2 separate regions of the Homo sapiens genome follow, and region 2 is linked to region 1. Evidence: promoter capture Hi-C in 16 types of primary human blood cells and fetal thymus (Javierre and others, 2016). All regions are on one chromosome and are shown on one strand. The core of a region is centred on a gene start or on the middle of the fragment in contact, and the rest is flanking DNA. Distances in the headings are between cores, read along the strand shown.

The links. The method cuts DNA at HindIII sites, captures the fragments that hold promoters and counts their contacts. A CHiCAGO score of 5 or more calls a contact.
Region 2: a fragment that was not itself captured here is called in contact with the fragment with the promoter of CDK6 in region 1 in 1 of 17 cell types (fetal thymus); the score reaches 5.1 in fetal thymus.

The regions. Positions count from the first base shown.
Region 1 is chr7:92,831,087-92,838,500 of GRCh38, forward strand. CDK6 (cyclin dependent kinase 6) reads right to left here and starts at 5,487. Exons shown (of 8, transcript NM_001145306.2): 1 at 5,392-5,487; 2 at 2,005-2,604. The coding sequence starts at 2,237. It overlaps CDK6-AS1 (CDK6 antisense RNA 1), which reads left to right and starts at 5,397. Exons shown (of 2, transcript NR_110088.1): 1 at 5,397-5,477. RefSeq lists enhancers at 1,735-2,235, 4,900-4,979 and silencers at 2,054-2,373, 4,070-4,319, 5,430-5,789. The HindIII fragment of the contact is 6,850 bases long and covers 212-7,061 here.
Region 2 is chr7:92,778,340-92,785,558 of GRCh38, forward strand. All of the region lies in intron 2 of CDK6 (cyclin dependent kinase 6), which reads right to left. Among named protein-coding and RNA genes, the nearest start is that of CDK6-AS1, 55 kb to the right of the region's middle. RefSeq lists a silencer at 4,422-4,622. The HindIII fragment of the contact is 3,942 bases long and covers 1-3,821 here.

The DNA of each region.
Region 1 (7,414 bases), core at 4,237-6,736:
ACGTAAAAATAATTTTAGAAAACAATGCCTTTGTCTTCAGTTCATAAGAATATCCTCCTGAAATTCACAGTACAGAATCCAAGTCATGGGTCAGTTAGAAACGTCTAGAAACACATCAATCTCAGGAGGATAAATCAAGAGAATAGGATGGATCAGACAAAATCTACAAGCACAATGGCAGAAAGTGTGCCTCTGGTATAAGAATGGCGTAAGCTTTGTAAACAATAGTGTTATACAGGGGTGCCTCTGTAGTACCTCTACGTTTGGAAGGACACTATTCATTCATATACATGATAAGCACCCTTAACTGGATACTCCATAGGTAACAGACAAAATAAAACAAGAACTTCCGTCTTAAAATTGTAGTGGTGGAATTCATCCTTCGGGATGTATTAGGTGATTCCCCTAGGACGACAGCTGAGTTACAGGGGGCTAAATATACCCTCCCCTTTTCCCTCCAATATCACAAAGAGCCCCAAAAACGGATTTTGTTGTTTTTAACAAATAAAATACACATGAAAAAAAGTCATCTATAGGTTTTTATATATAATCTCATCTTCTAAAACACTCATTCTCCTTCACTAGCTAGGCCGAGGTATAATGCGGTCTTAACTTTATAACCATTTACTGCCTTATTTATATATTTATGATTCTTTGATGCCTTCTAGCTTGAGTCTAAACTGCGTTGGGAACAAAGCACCGCACAAATCACCAGCCTGGGATAAGAGGAGACAAGTTAAAACCTCCCAAGAAGATTCTGTAGATATTTGGTCTCTCTGAGTCTGTAGAGAGTTTGGTATTTCAAAGGTCAGTCTTGGGTCTCTCCACTTTGATGACTAATGTTAAATTGTTTGACTTTTTACAAAAATATTTAGCTGTGCTTATTTACATCATTTCATCCTCAGCGCACACAGTAGGCATGTATTTGTTGAACAGAAGCCCTAAATGGATGAGAAAAAAGATATTTCTGCTACACATTTTCTCAAGATCGAGAAAGGTAAAATCACAACCCAATTTGCAGAAGTTTCTAGGCATTCCTTTTCAATGTAAAGCTATGCATCTCTGTTTAAAAAAGAAAAGGATGACACAACCAAACAATGTCAACCACACAATGGGGAAATTCCAGGATCACTAAGAAAACACCATTATCCTAAGTCACACATTTTCATTTAATACTGGTTACCACACAGGAGAGAGTAAGAACTGCTGTCTCCCCACCCACTCGCACAATCCATCTGGGAAAAGCATGGGCAGAACATTTATGATCTAACCATACCACATCTTGGACTCACATTTAACCCTTTGGAGAATTAGTCTAAAGAGTATGTCCGCCCAGAGATATAAAGTAAAACAGACACAGGGATAACAGTTTTGGAAGAAATTTTTATGACGCTGTTTGAGATTGGGCATCAGCACTCAAACTCCTTAGACCACCAGGAGTCATTCTTACTACGCAACTTTAATAAAGAGAAACTGAGAGTATGACTGGCAAAAATATTATGATGTTTCTGCATCTTGTTAACCTGATTTACACTTGGCTCCACCCATAAAGTTCCCACTGATTATCACACGGCATCCTCATTCTCCAGTCTCACCTACTCTGTCTTTCAAAAATTCCCCAACGGCATGGCCACGAAAAATATGCGGGGGCTAGCGGGGCATGTCTCAGGTTGGCTTATCCTGTCCCTAAAACGCACCCACTTCCCCCAGACCCTCCTTCAGGGTGGGCAGGGAGAAAACGCTTCTAAGTTGCACAGCTGCAGGGAAGCCTGCTCAGGTCATGTTTTTTTGACTTGTCTTTCGGCTCGCTGTCTGGCAAGGTCACCGGCTCTGGCTCGCGGCTCTGTCGACAAAACTTAACTCTCACTCTGTAAGACCAACAGGTCGCGCAGGACCTCCCCAGTCGCCCTCTGCCCCGCACCTTTCTGGGCCTGAGGATTCCCGGCTCGGCCCTCCCCGCGCGCGCGAGGCCCCAGATGGCGAGGGCGCAGCTCCCTGGCTCACCTGACCACGTTGGGGTGCTCGAAGGTCTCCAGGTGCCTCAGCACCGCCACCTCGCGGATGGTGGAGAGCGGCATGCCCTCCTCGCCGGTCTGCACCCGCACGCGCTTCAACGCCACGAAACGGCCTCCGTTCTTCAAGTCGCGGGCCTTGAACACCTTCCCATAGGCGCCCTCCCCGATCTCCGCCACGCATTCGTACTGCTGGTCAGCGCGGCACAGGCCGTCCTTCTCCATGCCGCCTGGACGCCGCCCGCCGCGGCGCCGCTGGGGCGGGCGGGGGGTGCGCTCAACTAGCTGGCGGCCGCCGCTCGCCTACTCCGGGGCTCCCCGGAGATCGGTCTAGCTTTACTTGCTCCCCGCCGGCTCAGGCGCTCGGGCGCTGGGGCTTTCGCCGCTGCAGAAGCTGGATGGAGAGACCTCCCCGCGGGGCTGGCGTAACCCTGGTGCCGCCGCCGCGAAACTCCGCCTGCAGAGTCGCCGCCGCCGCCGCCGCCGGAGGAGCGAGCCGATCCCTCCTCTTCCCTCCTCGAAGCGAAGTCCTCAACACAGACACGATTACATAGCCTCTGCCCAAGCGCGTCTCAGTCCAGAATCATTGCACCTAAAGGAGGAGACGGGAGGATAAGAAGAAAGTGCAATCAGACAGCCCAGAAGCCTTCCTCGGGGTTCCTCCAGACTCCCCTCCTCCTCCTTTACGAAGCCTCCATCGCTACCCTCCGCGCGCTCCTGCCCTCTCCCAAGCCGCTTAATCCTTCCTGGTTCCTCCGAGAAAAGCGAAGTTACTTTTCTTTCCCTGCAGGGCTGAAGCCGTCTTCGCGCGGAGAGGTTGCAGGGGCCCCTCGGGGATGAGCGAGCGGCGCGGGACGCAGTGGAACGGGAGGGGGCGTGCCGAGCAGCCCAGAGTGTGCCGGGAGCGCGGGGGAGGGGAGGCGCCGGGCACGTCAATGTCACGGCTTAATATTTATCCCTATATCATTGTGTTGCGCCGCTACCCTCCCCGCCTCCTGAGGCCCGGACGTGCAGGGAGACGGGGTCCAGGGGTGCCGGAGGGCGTTCAGGGGTCGCGCACAAGCTGGAGCGGAAGGACTGTGGGTCCATCCGTGTGGGGCCGCAGAATGTGGGTGGGGGCTCCCAGGACCCTGTAACCCGATGCTGGGAGTGTGCGAGAAGGGGTGGTCAGACATCTGCTCAGAAATTGCTTCCTTTCTTTCTACTTTCAGTTTTTCTACGAGGAGACATTTAAAAACGACTCGCATACACAAATGGTCTTTTTGGGGTAAAGGAGTCTCGGTTGGAAACGGAATTCTCTCTCCGGCTGGGAGGACCTCCCTGGTGGAAACCTTGGGAAGACCAGCCATCTGGTCGGGGAGGGTTGGGGCTTATCGGGGGTGGGCGAGCGAGCGGTCCTGGGGGAGGGGAGACACCGTCCCCCACGGGATCCCAAGGGTGGGAGAAAGGGGTGTTCGCCACAATTTCGCTTGTCGTCTCCTTAAAGAATAACTTCAGGAAGGGGATAGCATAATCGCGCCTCGTCCTTAAGTTTTAAACTGATTTCGACCTGAGCAAAACTCAACCTCCCTTTCAAAGGGTGGGGGGTGGGGGGTTAAATCCTGCGCCTCCAGGGGTGAGAGAGAAGGTCTCTGTCCTCGGGGCCCGGACTCGCGAACCTTTTCCCATTCCCAGGACCTCCCCGCTGTAGGTAGCAGAGGTGGCTGCCCCATTCCCCCTCCGGCTAAAGGCCCGGTCCAGTCTGCAGCCGGACGCCCCCGGAGCCCTCTGCACAACAAAGCGCCAGAGTAGGGTACCCTAACTTTCCCTCCCCATTCAGCAGCTATCTGGGACCTAGGGGGCCTCCCTCCTCCAGGGCCGCCGCGGCCTCGGCAGGACTTTCACCACGACGGCCGCATGTCCGGAATTCCCGGGGCACCTCGGAATTACCTGCCTCGCAACCGCTGGCCCGCTCGCCTTTTGCCAGGAATTAAACAAACGGCGCGACCCCCACGATGAGCGGGTGGAGCGGACCGCGGCGAGAGCAGAGCTTCTGGCACTCACTACATTCAGAACTTTCCTTAAAAGCCGAGGAAAGAGCCCCCAGGGACTGCCCGGGGGTCTGAGCCAGGTCGAGGGCCACACAGGTAGCCGGGGAGCCGCCGCCGGCCGCCCAACCCGCCTGTCCTGCATCCCCCCAACCCCCTCCCGCTCGAGTCTAGCCCCGGGCTCCGCAGCGAAGGAAGCGTCGGGGACGTCCCACCCCCGCAGGGAACTGCGCCTGCTGCCCCCGCCGGGCCCCGCACTGCCCTGGCTCTCCCCCCACTCGCCCCCCAGACGGTCGGCTTCGGCGGAGAGAAACGGGAGCAGCAATGCCTTTTCCCCCCCTCTCCTCCACTTTTTTTTGTTGTTGTTGTTGCTTTCCCACGCTGGCTGAATGTGACTTGACCCCATTTCAAAAAAAGTTTGACATAGTGCTTCAACATTTCCGCATTCCTCCGCGACTACAAAGGCTGCAGCCGCCTCCTTCTGCTTTCTGTCTCTGCTCTCTGTCTTCACACTCAATGAAATCCTTCATGCGCCTCTCCCGAAGCCTGCCAAGCACCACAAGGGTCGCCACCAGCACAGCGACAAGAGGCCACACCGGGGACCGCGACTCCCGCGTGTGCGCACACGCAGATGCGCCCATATGCACACGGACGGGCGCGCTGCGGGGACCAGGGCTGCTCACTGCGGGGCGTGTGTTTAACTCCAATATTTTAAATTATAAAAGTAAACTTGGAAACTACAGCAAACGTGCGTCTTCGCGGGGCTCCAAGCCTGGGCACTGGCCGGCTGCGTGCACTTTTCTGTGTATAACACGCCCGCAGGAAGCCTGCGTTAACATTTATCTCGTGGAGGGGAAGGTGGAGCCCACACCCACACCTCAGCGAGCTGGAGAGGGAGTTTTCGAGGGGGAAATGCAAGCACATTCTCCAGCATGGAGTCCCTAGAGGCAGTGCATTTTAAACCCTAAATGTGAATTATTATGTGAGTGTCCGAGTAGAGTTCCAGTTCCGTTTGGAGAAACTGTATGAGGCGTGTTCCGTGTGGGTGTGTGTGCGTACGGATACGTGGAAGCAGGATCTCGGTGTCGCGGGTGTCCCTAGGCTGGGATCTCCCCCTCTCATCAGATAAGGAGAATCCTCTAGCTCCCCAAAACTGGCCCCCATAACCAATCCCGTCTCAGTTCGTAAGGGGTTAACCAAAGCCGATTCCAAGGAAACACAGGTCCCCCCCACCCCCCGCCACCCTCCACTTACCCCACCCACAGTTCTGCCTCGGACCCCGGCCAATCCCCCAGATCTCCCCCGGGACCCCCCACCCCGCAGCCCACCCACCCGAGCGCACAGCTCCTCACCTGAGGGGCCCAGTCGCGTCGGGCCTCCCGAGGGGGCTGCGAGTGTCAGTCGGCTCTCCGCACGTGTCCGCGGCCTCGCGGAGCAGGTAATCAGACTCTGGGGAAGGAGTTACCAGCACTCTCTCCGGCGAGGGGGTGGGCACAGCGGCGGAGGGCGGAGGGACGGCGGAGGGCGCCGCCCGCGCCGCTCGCTGGGGGCGGACGGGGGCCGCTGGGCTCCGGCCGGCGCTGGGGGCCCCAGCCGGGGAGGCAGCTGGGGCGACCGTGCGGGGTGGGGGCAGGGACCCGCGAAGCCAACTCTGCCGGAGACCCACCCCCCGGCGGGGCTGGGGGCTCGTGGCGCAGTGGCAAGAAAGTGTGCAAATTAAAGCCTTCCGGAGAGAAATGAGGCGGCCGAGTCCCGGCAGTGCTCCGAGCTCCGGGCTCCCTAGCTCCCTTCTACGAGTCGGGGGCTAGAAGGGCGCGGTGGGGGTGGGGGTGGGGGGGAGAGTTAAATGAAAATTTCCGGCTTTCGCTGAAACTGTAGTAGGGGGATCCTGCGACTAAAATAAGCGGCATTAGTGGGAGAGAGTGGGACGTGTCGTCGGGAGTCGGCGGAGTTTCCAAACCCAGGGTCGCCCAGAGTTGGGGTTTTGACAGGGTGAAGCGGGGGGCATCCTCACTGTGTGACGTGGACGGATGGGAAAAACACAAAACAACCAACAATAATTATGAGCGGCCAATGGGGGTGGTAAATACCAATACTTTCCAAGAAACTGAAAAATCAGACCAAAAAATAACTCTTCTCTTAAAAAAATAAAGAAAAAGTTTGGCAGGATGCCTTGCAGAAAAGAAAATACTAATCTATCCAAGCACTTTTCACTTTCAGCATGAGCTACATTTGTTTTGTTTTCCTTCGCTTCCTTTCTGCCTCACAAAGCCCTATCTTTTCCTTTTAGACAGAGGATATGGTTTGGAAATTGTCAGGCACTCTTATGGTTAACGATCTACTTGAAGGGGCTGGCGGGCTCACAATTATTAAGTGGTTAGTAACTGCTGAGGGTTCACTAACGTATTTCAGAGGAGCTAAAAAGACTAAAATTTAGTGTAAATAATAGAACTGCAGATAGTAGATACATACACAAAAAGAGGAGTGCTCAGTTTAAATGCATTATTGGAAATCTGAAATTTGAAACCTTGTAAGAATGTATACTTTACCTGCTGAGAAACCCTTGAATACAATTATTTCAGGTGAAAATTAGATTTTGGAGAAAAAAAAGTCTTTAAAACTTTCTACAATGGAGTAAAAGAAAACTTGAAATAGCTGTCTTTTTGGAAAGAATTTGGTGTTCTCCCCAAAATCTCTATCTGTAGAATACTTGAAACCCTTTAAAACATCTTAAAGCAAAACTTTTCACAAAATTATTTACTTAAGTGCTTTGTAGAAAAATTAAAACCTGGCAAAATTCTGTTTGAATTGGAAATACTACTTCTATAAATCTTTTGACTTTAAAACCATGTTACTAATCTCACAGTAAATCAAATTTTTGCCTTTATAAAACTGATTCTATGTTATAGTGTGAGGTAAGGCTAGGGAAATAAAAATTGATGCATTTTCAGTAGCACATATTTTGCAATGCATTATAATACTTTTTTCTTTAAAAATAAAAGTGAATAATTGTATGTCTTTAAGCTTAAGATAATTCATAAAATACATTTGTGTTAAGAGCATGTCTTCTAAAATAAGATCCAGTTTTCTGAACAAAATTTGTATTTATAAAGCTATCTATAATCTCATATACCTTATAAATTTAAGAAGGCAAATCATTAGATTTTATATTTACATAAAAATATTGGATCACTACAAGTCACTAATTAGACTTTAAGCCAGAGACACAAGTGGGAATCCTCCATTTTGATAATTGTTCACACTTATCATTTGCCTTTTAAAACAAGATTTACTTGCTGGTAATTAACATGTTTATATAATCCAGAAATAATTGCCAGCAAATAGGAAGCAGCACATCATGGCTAGAATTTATTT
Region 2 (7,219 bases), core at 601-3,100, 56 kb before region 1:
TTAATATCCATTCCTAAACTTAATATTTTCCCCTAATGTTACTTATTCTGGAAAATTATTCCAATAAAGTAAAAACTCTTAACAGATTTATTAAAGATAGTACCATAAATCATATTAAGTCTCACACTCTAAAAATATGATTGCTATCATGCATGGATTTAATATGTGGAAAATTTATCAAAACAGTTCTTTTGCCTTGATAATTCAAGATAACTACAACTATTCACAGGCTTTTTTAAGCCAGCTTATTGCTATTAAATCCACATACTTGGACAACTTCACTCTTTTCTTCCTATTGAAAAAGAAAATGGAGTTCCACAATCCCCAACTTTCTTTATATCTGTTGCTTGTATTTTTGTAATAAAATAAAAGAGCAGTGAACCAAAAATGGCATGTCCCTAAAGTCAAATACAAACACAGAGCTGTTTCATACTATGACCATTTCAGTTGTGTTTCTGAAACATTACTTTAAAAATATTTCCCATTATAATTAATATATTTAGTGAAAAAATTACATTGCTTACCACTACCTGGAATCAATAGTAATTTTAGTAACTCCAGTTCTTACTGCATTTATAGTTTATCATATATATATATATATATATATAAGATATTATAGTAATTTCCAAAAGAGAAAAAATTCTGACGGGGGCATAACTGGAGAATAAAGTGATCCTAAAATACTGCTGAAACAAAAAGTCATCTGCCCCCTGGACCGTTGTCTTAGAAGTTACCTAACAACCCTGGCAGTATGCCCTGTTGCTTCATCTCACTGAAACCGTTTTCAAGCACTCTTTGCATGACACAATTTAAAAATAACATCTAACCCACCCAAGTTGCTTTCCTCAGAGTTATACTGCTCTCTTCAAAATATTAAGACTCACTGATGCCACCTGCAGCAACTGGACTCCAGGCCTCAGTTTCAATGGATGCTCAAGATACGAAAGGTGAGCTCACTGAAGCCACTACTAATTGTCCTAAATGATAAACCTTGGAGAAAAAAGGACTCATTTCAATCGGTAGTTTTTAAAACATGGAATTTTAAAGAGATGTGTAATAGTCCATAGAGCAGAACATTTTCACATAAATTTTAATGTATATACTTGCATATTCTTAAAAAATGGTATTAGGTAGAAGTGACTCCTCCAGGTTCAAGGAAATAATCCTTTTTAATTTTTAAGGTGCCATTATTATTAACTTCATTCAGGAAATGGAGCATATTAGAGACTTCTCAGACATTCACAAAGGGCATCAAGGGACATCAGAGTCCTAAGGGTGCCTGTAGGATACTCTCTTTTTTGGCTCCAGTGCTGGCTAGCCATCCACATCCTACAGACCTAGTACTCCATGGAAGACATCTGGGGAAATATTGCTCTTCCCAAAACTATGAAATTTTGTCTGACTTAAATTATGTCTGATTAATGGTTAGTAAACATTGTACTAAAAATTAACAGTTATATTAGTCACAATGGGTAGGAAATGCATTTTGAATCAATGGTTGTAAACATTAATCTTAGAAATGCTAGACTATAATATTTATGATGCTTTTTTTTGTCTACAATGACTCCCTCTGGAATTGCCCCAAATCAAATAATAGTCACTTTGGTGGGCAATAAAGAGAAAACAGAAACTTTATTTTTATTCTTATTTTTCTTTTAAGATGGAGTCTCACTCTGTTGTCCAGGCTGGAGTGCAGTGGTGCAATCTTGGCTCACTGCAACCTCCTGGGTTCAAGTGATTCTCCTGCCTCAGCCTCCCGAGTAGCTGGGACTACAGGCATGCACCATCATGCCTGGCTAATTTTTGTATTTTTAGTAAGGATGGGTTTCACCATGTTGGCCAGGCTGGCCTCGAACTCCTGACCTCAAGTGATCCACCTGCCTTGGCCTCCCAAAGTGCTGGGATTACAGGCGTGAGCCACTGTGCCCGGCCAGAAACTTTAATATAACAAATGAGTTTCATATACAACAACTGAGCTAAGCATGAATTAAAATCCCTGGTATTTGGCTAGAGGTAAACAATCTGTAATGTATTTATATAAATCAATAAGGAATGGGGCTAGGCTACCTAGAACCCTTACACTTGCAAAACAAAAGAGCCAGACAGGTCTGAACACTTGAATGTAAAAACTGGAAAATAGGCTGGGCGCGGTGGCTCACACCTGTAATCCTAGCACTTTGGGAGCCCGAGGAGGGCGGCTCACGAGGTCAGGAGATCGAGACCAACCTGGCTAACACGGTGAAACCCCATCTCTATTAAAAATACAAAAAAATTAGCCGGGCGTGGTGGCAGGCGCCTGTAGTCCCAGCTACTTGGGAGGCTGAGGCAGGAGAATGGCGTGAACCTGAGAGGCAGAGCTTGCAGTGAGCCGAGACCGTGCCACTGCACTCCATCCAGCCTGGGCAATGAGCGAGACTCCATCTCAAAAAAAAAAAAAAAACAAAAAAACAAAAAACAACAACAACAACAAAAAAAACCAAAAAAACCCCAAAAAACTGGAAAATAGCTACAACTGCATGATTCCTTATATTGACCAATATTTTAAGACTTTCTAAAACCTTTTTTTAAAAATTTTTGCTAATCTGTAACCTGACAAAAATACCATTTCAAGAATTACATGACAGCAGTTCCATAAGAAAAATGTAATCACAATGTATTGAATATGAACAAAATATCTCAGATGACTTTTAAAGGAAAGGAAAATTACCATTAAATATTTATCCATTAGAGCTTAGCATAATGTGATCCAAGTGAATGTTCAAAAAGTCAAAGTGCAAACTGGTTATTGGCATTAACTAAGGCTATGCCTTCAGTTTAGCTGTGCAAAATGCAATCCAAAAAAGGCAGATAGGTCGTTATCATTTCACAATTAAGTTGGCCAAGCCCCTAACTCTCCCACAAAGTAAGTTCTCTTGCTGTCTCTATTGTCCTGACCCGCCAGCTGCAGGGCAGAGAACAAGGCTTGCAGTCCAGCACAGCACTCAGTTTTCCAGCTGTCCTAGTGATGTAATTATCTAATAACAAAATATCTCTCTGAATTAACTCTGCATCCTACCCATTGTAATTCTTAATGACTACTTCCTGTTCATGTTCTCAATTTAACTTGCTCTTCTGGAACTATTGCATAGGCAAGTTGCCTTCATCTAATGGATGGGATTACATCCAATAGGTTTGGGATTTCCAAAGATTACAATTTACAAAGGTCTCCCAAACAACATGCTTTGTAAACACAAGCCCTGCCTTTCTATTGTGGTTACAATAAAAGGGAAATCTGTCTTATTTGCTGTGATTAAACTTTGACCCATTCACAGGAAGTTCTATGAGGATTTTTTTCCGGTCACTTTTTTTTCCCCCATTCTCTTCAATGTTTGGACATCAAATAGTTCAAGAGCTGAGAGATGTCTGGCACAGCTACCTAAGGGCCACAACAAAATTCTGCTTGAACTAGAGCCAGTATTTGGAATCGAGAAGAATTTTTAAAAATATCTAATCTCCTCCTCTTAAGTGCATGAAGCATATTCTGTGACTATGTCTTGTATGCACCAAATTTATGTTCACACATCTCACTAGCCCTACACTACGGATATGGGCCACTGTATTCTCTTTTTTGCTCATTAAATATGGACTCTGTGTGCACTTATTCTCAACCAGCACCAAATGGTATAGCTCCAGGAGTATTTGCCACCAACAATAATGTGCATGCTGCTAGAAGCAAATTGCGATTTCAGCAGCACCCATAAACATTTACCAGCACCTACCATGTGCAGGCACTATACTCAGTTTTAGAGTTTCCAATAGATATGACAGATATTGTTTTTAAAAGCTTTACTATCTAGTTGTGGGAAAGAAGACTTACAAGTAAAAATGCAGGTAATGATGTATGGCTATGTATTAGTACCAAATAAATTCTATAAACACTATGTACAACTTTATATATCACATCAAGTAAATTTATTCTACATCCTATTAAGTAAACCACAGATGGTCTCTGCCTTTCCATCCATTTACCTCTCCTGGAAGCCACACCCTTATTTTCTGTTGAGGAACTACTCCTGTCCTAGAATCTGGCAATCTGGTTTTAACAGCAGGGGCCCACGGATGGCATGTGAACAACCCTGGATTGAGTGATGATGAATGATTCAGAGGTGGACAGGAGCATAATAATCAGTCTCAGAAATTTTGCTAGGACTTCTGGGAGAGTAAAACTCTACACTGGGATTATGAAACTGGCAAAGTCTCAGCCTGCAGCTACTGATGGCTGTCTTTGCCACCATTTTAGTGAACCTACTATGGGATGCAGAAGAGGGCCAGAACAAGGGACAGTGGGCAAGAGATTCCGGAAGACATTATTTCCACACCTGGGCCCAGTGTGTTTGATCTACCCCTGGATTTATTAATTATGTGAGTCACTAAAGTCAGTGTTTTGCTTATCCAGCTTGAGTTGGGTTTTTATTACTTGCAACAAAAAATTGTCCTAAGACATCTATAAATATTTTGAAATGATTAAATGACTTAAAAATGTCAATATCTGGCCTCAAATACGTCTTACAGAGTAGACACAATGAGTGAAGCTCAAGCACAAAAGAAGTAGCAGTGTCCTCAAAGTGACTGTCCCAGTTCTCTGACTTGGCTGGGAATCTATTCACCTTAAATGGCTCCTCCATTCGCATGTCCACTGGGCAAAAGTAGCCGACAGCAGAGAACCAGATCAATCCATCCTTCCCAAGGAGCCAGGCAGCTTCCTCTCAGACCCTACTTGAGGTTCCTGATCTGACCATAGAGACACTGGATGGAGGAAAGCACAGAAGGAAGAAGACAGATGGACAAGTTTATCACAAACAGGAATGTAAAACATAGAGTAGAAAAGAACTCAATGGTAAGAGGAAGCAAGGAGAAAAAAGAACTTAAAAATAATACAAAGATACAGGGTTCAATTAATTTAAAGGTTGAATCCAGTGTGCAAGGTGTGTTCTCCTGAAGCCTTCAATTAAACAACCCCTTTCCCACTAGCTGTTGCTGAAAAGTGGAAAAGGACAGGGATGTCAAACCAACTCTAAAGCACAGAAATCCTTTGTATTTAAACTGTTAAGTTTATGGCTGCTATTATCTGACAAGGGAAGGCAAAATCAACATTGCTTATTTACTAAATCATTTTATTCCTACAGCCTTTAAGAGAGTATTCATAAGAAAGTTTCATTGTTTATCTTCTTTCCAACTTTAGAGTTGCTATTAATCTAGTTTCAGCTTCTATCTATATAGACCTGGCACTGTGGCTCTAGGAGTTAATATCTTCTGAATCTGTTAACCAAAAAATGTTTTACATGTGGAATGGGAATCCCCTAAACTGGGCAAGTTTACAAGATGTGACTCTTGCACTATAGTAAATTTTGAAAATAGAGCAAACAGTAAAACTATGTATATGGAAACACATTCCTACCACACGATCAGCAACAGAACTGATGTACTACTAGCTGGGCCTGAAACAAGCTATTTAGGATGGCTTAATGGGTATATGGGATGCCTATGTACCCCTCTCCTCATTCCAGATCAATTCCTGAACTGGACATTAAATAATAGAATTCAGCTTCTTCCATAGTCCTACATACAGCAAGCACTACAGGCACTTCTACGTCATCAAACACAATTATTCAAACTGCTAATGCATTTTATCTGAATGAAAGGCAGAGAAAAGAGTAAGGCTGTAGCATCACTCTGTTATGCTAACTACATGCTATTATGGGAAAAAAAAAAGCTTTAGAGCTGCCACAAAGAAGGCATATCATAAAATGCGATTTGTTGTCTTGCAGGGAAGAGAATGGTAGCAGGGGCAAAATCCTACTTGGAATTAAGTGAACTCCAAGTCACTAACCATGTGGATCATTATCTCCCCAAAGACAAGAGAAAGATAACAGCTAAACAATAGCTGTTTTCTGTAGGCAGCTAAACAATAATCAGTTGATAATTTTGGTGAGTCCAGTTCCAATACAAAATAGATTTGGAAGTTCAAAGAGAACACAGCCAACTCTACAAAAAGAAGCGACCTGCCAATGGAGAAAATTAGGAACTATTAGGTCTAGATTAGTATAAAGAACAATTCACCAACCTCAGCTATAGATCAGGAACAGGGCACTGTTTACCTCTTGAGGTCTCCACCTAGACATGATGAACTTTTAGTCTTTCCTTAACAGTTACCTTCAATCAGCCACTCCAAAAACATAAATATGATGGACAAAATAAGGGCCTAACAAGAGTGAATGGACTGAGAGACCCCAAAACCTGTGGCTTTTGGTGAGAGGATGGGGTGAGGGGAACTCAAGTCGCAAGCCCTACTGGCAGGTCAGAGATGACAGAGTAGCAAACTAAAGATAGCCTTAAACTAGTGGTGCCTCTTTGCGTTTTGCTTATTCTTTTCTTTCAATTCTCAGTGGCACCCACAGCCATGTCTGATACATAGGTGTTCAATAAATATTTATTGAATAAATGAAATTTTTCTAAATTATAACTTAGGGAAAAGTCAAAGTAAAATAAAGTAAAAGTGAGGATACTTCAAGATGTCATTAGGAAAGCGTGGCATTCTGAGTAAGCCAGATTTTGTAACTGCTGTTAAACGAAGACTCAAACACTAAAATATTGCATTTACTAGTTAATTAAAAAATCTTAACAACTGTATGAGATGGTACTCATTTTAGAGACGAAGAAATAGACACAAATGTTCACTGAATGATGACGCAGTGAAGGTAAACAAATATTCACTGCGGCATCATTCGTGATAGCCCAAAACTGTAAATAACCCAAATGTCCATCAACTGATGAATGCATAAACAAGGTGTGGTATATCCATACAATGGAATACTATTTAGTAATAGAAAGAAATGAAGAACAAATACATGCTATGACATGGATAAACCTTAAAGGGATTATGCTAAGAGAAAGAAGCCAGTCACAAAAGACTATGTATTCCATTATTTCATTTATATGAAATATTCAGAGCAGGTAGATCTATAGAAATCGAAAGTGGATTTGTGGTTGCCTGGGACAATGAGCAGTGGGAGAGTGTGGAGGAATGGGGACTGATAATGTGTACTGGGTTTCTTCTTGGAGTGATGAAAATTTCCTAAATTTAGATCATGGTGATAGCTGTGCAACTCAGTAAGTATACTGACCTGAAGTCTTACACAGGTGCATTTTATGGTATGTAAATTACATCTCAATAAAGCTG